3 separate regions of the Homo sapiens genome follow, and regions 1 and 3 are each linked to region 2. The links are contacts of gene promoters, found by promoter capture Hi-C in blood cells and fetal thymus (Javierre and others, 2016). All regions are on one chromosome and are shown on one strand. The core of a region is centred on a gene start or on the middle of the fragment in contact, and the rest is flanking DNA. Distances in the headings are between cores, read along the strand shown. Region 1 has its middle 94 kb from the start of CD83. Region 2 holds the start of RNF182 (ring finger protein 182). Region 3 has its middle 69 kb from the start of CD83.

Region 1 (3,444 bases), core at 35-2,534, 100 kb before region 2:
TTAATCATCTTTCCATTGCCAATCTCTGCAAAGTAGTGGGAACACTGTAAGCCTTCAATGCATATTTGTTTTTAAAAAGTTGGTCCAGAAAGTTGATGACCCATATCAAAGATGAGGGCTTAGGGTGTGAACCATGGTCAGGAATGAACAAGGAGACACAAGTTCAGAAAGTCATAATGAAGCTGCAGAAATCACGAAGGGCTTCATCAAGAAAATCACATTTGCATTGTGCCCTGGAGGACGATGAGATTTCAGCAGGTAGAGATGTGGAGGGTATTCCTGTGGTAGAACCCCTTAAGGAAAAGCAGAGAAGTGGGAAGGTACAGAGAATGTTCAGGAAGAGTGGATACAGTTTTCCTAGAACAGAGACTAAGTGAAGGTGGGGTGGAGCAGGTGCTGGGAAGGCAGCAGGGGCCAGATCATTGCAAGTGGCAACGCCAGCCTCAGCGCCATGGGTGTTTTCAGATGCTGTGGTAAGCCATGGGAGGCGGTCTATGCGAAGGGGTTGGGGAGTGATGTAATGATTGAGGTTGGGCTGTCACTTCTGCCTTTGCCAGGAAAGTTATTAGAGTGAGGTTGCTAATGTGGCAGTTGTGAGGGGTGAGCTCACTGACGCAAGAGTGAATTAAACATTCGGGATGGGCCCGGGAAGCCACCTTCACTATCATTCATTGCCAAACCCTAAACGGGGCCACAGATCTGACTGCTTCAGTTTCACTTATTGGTGTCATTTAGATACTGTCTGATAGAGGAAGTAGAGGAAAATGTTTCAAAAGCTGAAAGACCTAGACAATGGCTATGCCTTAGTCTTGGCAGCAAATGCAAGCGAACCCAAAGATGGGCAGGATGTCATCAAGTTAGTCCTCAGTGTGAGTAGAAAGGCTGTGCTCAGGCTGCTGGGGCTGCGGTGCACACCTTAGCAGGGACCCGAGGGCTGAGCTTTCAAAGGCCCCTCTTCCGGAGGCTGAGGATCAGTCTGTCCTACAGCTCTACACTTCCAGCCTCTGCATCACTCCTGTCAGTGTCTGCAGAAACCTCAGGGAAAGGAAGAGCTTGGGCTCCTGTAAAAAAAAAGCACTCACTGAGAGGCAGAGGGCTCGCAAATAGGGCTGCTGCCTACTTTGTTCTTCTAACTCCTTCCCTTCCCCACCCTTCATTGTTTTTCTTCCCTTAGTTCAGTCTCAGATATGATTGTGAATGCAGAGCTCCAAACAATGCCCTTTTCAAGTGATTTGCCTCAGCCTGGAGCATCCAGGGAAGAGCAGATCCCCATCCCACCACTCAACAGCTCCCCTACTTTCCCCAAGCCCCACTCACCACAGCTGTTAGCAATGCGGTCCCCATGGCCTCCCATCTAAGGCCTATACCTCCTCTGCAGATCAGACTGAGAGCTCCTGCAGGCAGGAGCTGGGCAGGCTTGTTTTCTGGGCTCCCCACTCCTGATTAGTATGGTCTTCAGGCACTGGTGGTCCAGTTTTATGGACCAGGGTGAGATGCAGGCAGAAGTGTGCAGGTATTTGCATAAAGCTCTGCACATAGAACACTCAGCACCGCTGTTTTGGGATCTAGGACAAAGCCTGCCCCACCGTGTACAGCCCCAGGGAGCAAAATGGCAGCGTGGTGCTCCACTCTATCCCGGTTTTATTCTCAGCTGGGTTCTGAAGCCCCAGCTGCAGCCAGTTTGATATGATTGAAGCAGAGCTTCAGGGAGGAGAAAGGAGGCAGAGGACTAAATATCCCATAATATTTCTTCCATTAAAGTCTTTCAATGAGGGAAAAAATCAACAAAATGGTTTTTCCATTTTGAAAAAGAAAAAGACAAAGACAAACCCAGCAGGAGATTGAGAAAATGAATGAAAGGCTTATTAAGCAGGGAAGTATTTTGTTTACTTCCTGCAGGCTGCATTCCACAATTACTACCTTTCTTCTATTAACAAAAATCACGGCCAAATGATGGGATAAATTGTCTGCCTGAGCCTCGTAAGGATTTACTGAGGCAAAACCTCAAAAAAAGAGCATGTGGCGGGGTGCTGCTTCTTCCAGCAACACTGTAGGTGGCAGGTGATTCCAAGGGCTATGCTGATCCCACTGCCCAAGATAAAGCATTTGGGACATTACAGCCTCCCTCCATCGAAACTAAAATAATGAAGACTGATGAAAAAACAACAGCAACAACAACACTGTATTTTGACCCTTAAGAGCCAAGGAGGTGCCGGGCACGGTGGCTCATGCCTGTAATCCCAGCACTTTGGGAGGCCGAGGTGGGTGGATCACCTGAGGTCAAGAATTGGAGGCCAGCCTGGCCAACATGGTGAAACCCCATCTCTACTAAAACTACAAAAATTAGCTGAGCATGGTGGCAGGTGCCCGCAATCTCAGCTACTCAGGAGGCTGAGGCAGGAGAATTGTTTGAACCTGGGAGGTAGAGGTTACAGTGAGCCGAGATCATGCCACTGTACTCCAGCCTGGGTGACAGAGCAAGACTCCGTCTTCAAAAAAAAAAAAAGAACCAAAGAGGGATGCCTACCTTGTGAGCAGTAAGGCCACACTGGCTCTGCCATTCTGAAGCCAGGAGCTCCTGGGGCCACACCCTGAGGACGGCCCATCCTGGGTGCTAGAACAAGAGAAGCGGACCCTCCGCAAGGTCTGCCATTCACTGCACTACCCGATTCAATCCTCGCTCCAGTCCATTCTCACACTGCTATACAGATACTACCAGAGACTAGGTGATTTTTAAAGAGAAGAGGTTTAATTGACTTACAGTGCCACATGGCTGGGGAGGCCTCAGGAAACTTAAAATCGTAGCAGAAGGTGAAGGGGAAGCAAGGCACATCTTACATGGCAGCAGGAGAGAGACAGCATAGGGGAAGCTGCCACTTTTAAACCATCAGATTTCGTGAGAATTCCCTCACTATCACAAGAACAGCACAGGCGAAACTGCCCCCATGACCCAATCACCTCCCACCAGGTCCCTCCCTCCAAACGTGGGGATTCCAATTCGAGATGAGATTTGGGTGGGAACACAGAGTCAAACCATATCAATGATTATCTCCATTCTTCAGATAAGAAAACAGAAGTCCAGAGAGGTTAAGTAACCTATCCAAGCTCACACAGCTAGTAGAATTTGAAGTCAGGCCTGTCTGAGACCAAGGCTTGAGGCTCTGACTTTTTGAAGCCCCGCCAGTTGCTCACTTCAGGGTGAGGGACCAAGGGGAGGAATATCACAAGCTGGAGCCTAAGTATTGGGGGAAAGCATGGACACAAACCATATCCTACCCACAATTCCAGAGATATCCGAACCCAAACCCCACCTCTCCCAGAACTCTCAGGAATGATCCCACATCCTATAGATCCATCCAGCCATGGATAAGCTTTTGCCCCAATATTCTGGATTATTACAAATATAAAACAGAAACATCAGGCCTCATGAATAGCAGCTAAGAC
Region 2 (3,278 bases), core at 737-3,236:
CACAACATAAATGTTTAGGCTAGAACTCACAGTGTGGGTTTCATCTGGCAGAAAGCACGGACCAAGTCCTTGAACTTGAATACTGGTTTTGCTAACAAAGATCTGAATAAAGCTGTTCTGTTGGTCCCTCAGGAAAAAAAAAAAAACACACACACACACACAAACACACAAAATAATTTATTTTTAGTACAAAACATAAAACTACATTCTCTGTCTATATAATGTGCCTAGGCTTCAATATCCTATTTGCTGTTCATGCTTAAGTGAGAAAATACTTTTCTCTCCCGTTTATCTTCTCAAAACAGATCTACTTCGTTTTAATCAATGTACGATTTTATTACCGTCATGAAAGAGTATTTAGCAGAGCATCTGTGAATCTTCCACAGGTAAAATTCAGTTTAAAAACAAGCCCAATTGTGAAATAACCTGCAAACTGTTAATTGCAACTTCAATCCTTTAGTTTCCAATACAATCTTCTAATGAAGTGGCATTACTTGAAGTTGCTGGCAAATATGAACAGACTGAGAAACCTAGTAATCAGCAGGCTAACAGGTGTTGAAATCCCAAAAGAGGGAAGAGGAATATTAAATAATCACTCTTTGCCTGACACCTCAAGTAGCTGTAATATGCAGAATTCCAATCAACTTAACTGCAATTCAAAATGATCAGTGGTACTGTTTTCATTAATTACTCTCTAGCAAAAATATAATTTCTTGCATTCCATATAGTTCTTTAAATGACCTATTCCAACTTATACATTATTTTACTAAGTTGGATATACAATTTTATATGTTAGATTATTTTCCAGTTATCAATATGACATCTCATATTGTTTAAATATGATTTAAAACAAATCTTATTAACATATATACAATTTCCTTCTGAATTGATCAACTGTATTTCTGAAAATGTATCTGTTTTCTTTCATATTACTACATGTAAGATGATGTCTAAGTACCAAAAAAAAAAGTCTTCACAGTCACAATTTAAATCTGTGCTTCGCGTCTGCAACAAACTATCACGAAATGATTGCAAGGGTTGGGGCCACTGAGAAAGGTACCTATAACCTATCCAGTGCCCCAGTGGCAACCGCATCGTGGTCCTCATCATCCCACTCATAAACACCGATGCAAACACCGCCCAGCTACCTGCCTCCAGAGGTGCTTTGGATTGCCTCCCTACACATAAAAACAAAAGGCACTTTCCAGTTCCTTACAGCATGAACACAATACCTTCTAGAAACAAAAGCAATGACCTCGGTGCCAAGTATCTCCTTGACAAAGTATCGGTACTGCTCTACATTCTGGTCTTGCTAGTCGGGGAAAGCCGGGCTACCCTTACCATCCAGTTATAGGTGCAACTGCACCTTCCAAAGAAAAAAAGGTCTTTCGATTCAATATCCAAACGAACTTCAGAAGCCTCCTCAAAATGCTTCAGCCACAGGCATAAAAATGGGCTCACTTTTCAGAGATTCGTAAAAATCTTTCGCTTGTCCCTCTTACTACCCTCCCAACCCCTCCTCAAAGAGAATGCCATGAAACATGAAAGTCCAAAGGTAAATACTTTCATACCTTTTTTTCCCCCAAAAGCCTCGATGGCACGCCAAGAAGGAAAATAACAACAACAACAGAGGGGCAGCTCCCTGAGCAGGTGCAGCCCGCGCGGGCGCTCCGCAGCCGCCCTCCGCCGCACAGCCCCTCAAGTTGGTGCCAGGACGGCGGCCCCCGTGGTGCCCGGAGGGAGACTCCGCGCGCGGGCCCCGGCGCCGCTCGGCCCGAAGTTTGCCGCCCCCTCTCCTCGGCGCGCTTGGGCGGCCCGGCGCCGTCCAGGACTGCGGGGCTGGCTGCTGCCCCAGCGTTGGGGAGGCCCGGCGTCCCGCCGACCCCTCCCCGGCCGCGGGCGCGATCGCCTTACCTGGCCGGCGGCGGCCCAGGGCCCGGGAGCCGCTCCGGCTGCGGCGGCGCCTGGGAGGGGAGGGAGGTTCCCGTGGAGGAGGAGCTCGCGCGAGGAGCTAGCGGGCTGGCGGGCGGGCGGCTTTGTCTCTACGGCGCTGAGCCGCCGACCCTGCGTCACCATGGCAACCGCCGGGGCCCCCCCGGCCCTTCCCCTCAGCAGTCCGGGTATTCGGAGAGGACAAGGACCCCCGATGGGCCGCCACCACCACAAACACGCCCCTCTCTCAGTCTCCCTCACAAACCGCCTGTTTCTCCCCAGCGAGAGGGGAAGGCTAAAGCGGAGCGAGCCCAGGGCCAAGTGGTATTCGCATCCTAGTAGGCACTCCTTTGCTTCCCCACACTGGACATTCCAACTCCCGTCGCACCACCATCCCCCCCACAGACACCCTCCACCACTACCACCACCACACCTTTCTCCTGTGGAGCTGTACCCTCAAAATGGAAATTCACTTAAGGGAGGAGAAAGAGCAATGCAAAGTGATAAAGTGTTGAGCAACTGGTACTCGGTTCTCCTGTTGCAACTGCCGCAGCATGCACGGAGCTGCCAAGGGACGCCGTGCCGCCTCCTCCCTCTCCCCCTCCTCCTCCTCTCTCTTTTAGCAAGCTTTGCCTCTGCTGGATGTGGTCTCACTCCACCCAACCCGTGTATCTGTCTTGTTGAGGGCTCCCGTAGGAGAGAGGGGAAAGGGGGCTTTATCTCTGATGTAAACACTGGATACACTTGTAACCTCAGAAGCTGAAACACAACTTTCAGGCTGCAGTATGGATCTCAGCTGCTGCCACACTGCGCAGCTACTGGCTGTGACCGCTAAGCATCTACCATGAGCCCTGAGTGACTCTGTGCCAAGGACTGGTCACGTACTGCAGGCCATGGCACTCAGGAGCAGAGAAAAGAAAGCTAACTTTTTCCTCTCCTGAGGAAATTCTTAGAGAGGGAGAGAAAAGTACCAGCAGACCCTTGGTCATGCTTCCTCTAAAGGACGAACTAGAGGGCAGCCTCCATGGGGGGAGTGAGTCATCCCTCCATACTGTTTTCTTGAAAGATCCGTTGCTGAATCCAAAAGCTACAGTGTCTTTCTTCAAACCCTGGGGAACATGACATTTATTTTTTGGCATTTGTGAATCACCAAAGGAATGTCAATGATTTATAATAAAATCCACGGTAGCTGATGTTTTCTGGGTTTACTACTTGAGAAGCCACAAAGCAGAACAATGTTATTGCCATTTGAAGGTACACCTATATTAACTAATGAAAAGATAAGATCTATTTCATGGTGGAAAAGGAAAACAGTTTGTTCCTCGGAGAGACTGGCCACTTTCTTG
Region 3 (3,676 bases), core at 363-2,862, 120 kb before region 2:
AGAAAAGGAAAGCCAGACTCCCCTGAGAGCCCTTCTAGGGAACAGATTGAGTCCCATCTGCACGAGCAATGGTGAATCAAAGGTGGGACTCAAGTTCCCAAGTCTGCTCCTTCACTCTGGGCAGCCTATTAGATTCATGTGCTTCTTGACAGCTTTGGACAAAAATGATCATGCCCCTCCTGATAGCACCAGACAGGTCAATGTGACATGCAGCCATCATGCCTCTGGATTTGGAGGCTCCCCAGGAGAAGCAGCTCAAGCCCGGCTTCGACATCCTGAAAGTGTTTCTGTGCCACCCCACAAGCTGCTGGTTGGTCCATCTCAGCTCCCCTCATTCACCTGCTCTGCCCTGCACTGTTTGGTAATCCAGCATTCTCTGCCACTCATTCTACATGCCTATCCACCCAGCCCAGCAGTCTAACCATGATGCTGGTGGTAAGGAAAAGAGAGAACAGGGGCTTTCAAGTGGAACTTGTATTGCTGTTAAATAAGAATCACTCTCCCTTAGATGTGTATATATGAATCTGTAATATGGACATAGATGGACAGAGATGTCTCCTTTTCCCTGTTCTAGCATTTGAGGCCACCTCCAAGCCCCACCCATGGTAAAGTGGAGAAGCACAGGGCCAGCAGTCTACAATGGACGTCATGGGCATGATTATGAGAAGACTGAGCAGGAGAGAGACCCCAAAGACAACGCTGCTCCCCGCAGCATAACTAGATGGCACAAGGAAGCACTGAGTTAATACTGGGTGTTGGGGAAAAGGTACGAAGGTGCAAGGGAGATACTCTAGAAAGGATACTGACTCTCTGTCTGAGATACTCACCAACCCATGTCAGCCTAACAAACTCCTACTTAATCTTTGAAGCCCAGTTCATAATGTCCTTTCTACACATTTCTGTAGCCCCATCTACCAGGACCTTCTCACAGATTTTTACTTTCTCCGTGTTCCTAGAACAGAAACAGCCATGATGTCTCAGTCAACAACAGATCACATATACCAAGGTGGCCCCATAAGCTTGTAACAGCATATTTTTATTGTATCTTTTCTGTATATAGATACACAAATAAGTACCATTGTGTTCCAATTGCCTACAGTATTCAGTACAGTAGCACGCTGTACAGGTTTGTATCCTGGAAACAATAGCCTATACCATATAGCCTAGGTGTGTAGTAGGCCATACCATCTAGGTTTGTGTAGGTACACTTTATGATGTTCGTGTAATGACAAAATTGCCCGACGATGCGTTTCTCAGAACATATCCCCATCACCAAGTGATGCATGACTGGATCTTGATTACCTGAATTTTACCAACTTCTTAAACGCTGACCCTAGAACTAAGTCCACCCTCAAATTATCCCCTAGTTATTTTTGTGGGTCCCCAAGGGCTCTCATAAAGGAGCTCAGCAACACCTCCATGGGTGAACTTCAGTTTTTGATACCCATATCTCCTTGAGGAGGTGCCCTTCTCTGCCCAGTGGCAGATGCCCTTGTGAAAATTCAACACTTCCTGGTCCAAATTGCTTCCCTGGGCTGCTCTGGCCTATGGCAGACCATGGGAAAATGGCTCTCCTTCTGCTCTGTGCCTTATTAGGTTGCAAGAGCCTTGAAACACTCCACTATGTGTACTCCAAGTCTTATTGACCCTCCTTTACCTCTGGTTGTGTTTCCTCTCATTGTAGGTCCAGCCTCTCAGACCAGGCAGCGAAGGGAGTCATGCCTTCCCCTCCACACTCCTGTCTTTCTCTTCAGCATCCTGGGAACCACGCATAAGCCTTTCCTCCTTCTTCCAGTCTGAAACAAACCAACAAAAGCAACAATGCCCCAACCTCTGTAAATTAATGACCTGGTCAGGGAAAGGTAACTAGCCCCATTCATACAATCTCTGGTCAGACTGGGTTGGAGACACACACCTTTGTACATTCCCTTGCCACATGCCCTAAGAACCTCTAATATAACACTTGTCACATTCACTGTGATTACGTCATCAAGGCTAGACTCCGAGATCTTTGAAAGCAGGGACCATAGACTATTCATCTTTGTGCCACTCTCCAATTCTGCACTCAATAAATAATCATCACGTCTAATATTTAATGAGTACTTAAAATGGATGAGTCAGTGCAGGCTAGGACTTCTATAATAAGAGCTCCCCATTCCTCCTCATCTGAGTTCCTAAATAAGTGTTTTTAGCTTTAAAAGCTTAGAAGGGTGAGCAATTAACCTTCAACTCCTTTCCCTACTCCTGGTATAAATTGTCAAACCTCCCGCAAACAAAAACAGTGCATAAAACCATCAGAGCTTGTGAGAACTCACTCACTATCTTGAGAACAGCATATGGGAAACAGCCCCCATTATTGAATTACCCCCCCACAACATGTGGGGATTGTGGGGCTTATAATTCAAGATGAGATTTAGGTGGGGACACAGCCAAACCATATCAGTTCAACAAACATTTCATTATTTGATAATTCTCCTTAAAAGAAGTTGACCGATTATTTCAGTTACCTCTCCAAGTGCTCTAAATTAGAAATGAGATATGTAGAAATCATCACTACAAATTTGACTACAATACAGTAATTTGTAAGGTGGGGTATTTGGGCGTGGGTATTTGAAGGTCAATCATTTCTACCCTCTGCAGGGTGTAGAATGCATGGAGTTTTACCCTATGTTGCTTAAAACATCTGCCAGACTCCCATGCCCACCTTCTTGATTTGGTTTTCTAGTTTGGTAGCAGTCCCAGCAAAGACCACAATGACTAATATTACCATTATTAAGAAGAGAGTTCCATGATCTTCTGGAACCATAAAATCTTTTTTTTTTTTTTTTTTTGAGACAGAATTTTGCTCTTTTTGCCCAGGCTGGAGTGCAATGGCACAACCTCGGCTCACTGCAACGTGCGCCTCCCAGGTTCAAGGGATTCTCCTGCCTCAGCCTCCTGAATAGCTGGGGCTACACGCACGTACCACCATGCCCAGCTAATTTTTTATATTTTTAGTAGAGATGGGGTTTCACCATTTTGGTCAAGCTGGTCTCAAACTCCTGACCTCAGGTGATCCATCCACTTCAGCCTCCCAAAGTGCTGAGATTACAGGCGTGAGCCACCATGCTGAGCTGGAACCATAAAATCTTATGGTTTCAGATCATTTAGTTCCACTAGTCCTCTCATACCTGAGTCTCCCAGTCCAATCCCTAATTCTCTAACAACAGTCTGCAGACAGCTGCCTCTGAATCATCAAGGAGCTTATTATCAAATAGAGATTCCTGGGACCTCCTCCTGGAGACTCTGGTTCAGTATGTCTGAGAAAGGACTAAGGAAAATTAGTTTTTATGATTAAATGCCTTCCATGATGTGCAAAGCAAACCAAAACTACTTCAGACAATTCTGAGATTTTTGTCAAGCTGAAATTTTTGCCTCCTACCTTCTACCAATTGGAAAGTTCTTTGGAACTAAACTGAACTAGTCTAATCTTTCTTCCACAGACAGCTCTTCAAATATTGAAGATAAGTGTGAATGATTTCCTAGGGCCAGTGTCCTCTAGATTATAAAGGGCTAGTGTCAACAGTTCTTCCTTCAATCATAGTGCTTTTTGGTCCAAATCTAGATTATGAACTTCTAAAAGGCCGGGACAATGTCTTATTAATCTTTTATCACGATACCCAATTCTTAGATATGC

The links. The method cuts DNA at HindIII sites, captures the fragments that hold promoters and counts their contacts. A CHiCAGO score of 5 or more calls a contact.
Region 1: a contact is called between a fragment that was not itself captured here and the fragment with the promoter of RNF182 in region 2, in 1 of 17 cell types (endothelial precursors). The highest score is 5.2, in endothelial precursors.
Region 3: a fragment that was not itself captured here is called in contact with the fragment with the promoter of RNF182 in region 2 in 1 of 17 cell types (endothelial precursors); the score reaches 6.6 in endothelial precursors.

The regions. Positions count from the first base shown.
Region 1 is chr6:14,022,511-14,025,954 of GRCh38, reverse strand. No RefSeq gene overlaps it. Among named protein-coding and RNA genes, the nearest start is that of CD83, 94 kb to the left of the region's middle. The HindIII fragment of the contact is 4,178 bases long and covers 1-3,373 here.
Region 2 is chr6:13,923,660-13,926,937 of GRCh38, reverse strand. RNF182 (ring finger protein 182) reads right to left here and starts at 1,986. Exons shown (of 3, transcript NM_152737.4): 1 at 1,915-1,986. RefSeq lists an enhancer at 2,591-3,091. The HindIII fragment of the contact is 2,801 bases long and covers 1-2,561 here.
Region 3 is chr6:14,047,386-14,051,061 of GRCh38, reverse strand. No RefSeq gene overlaps it. Among named protein-coding and RNA genes, the nearest start is that of CD83, 69 kb to the left of the region's middle. The HindIII fragment of the contact is 1,182 bases long and covers 1,022-2,203 here.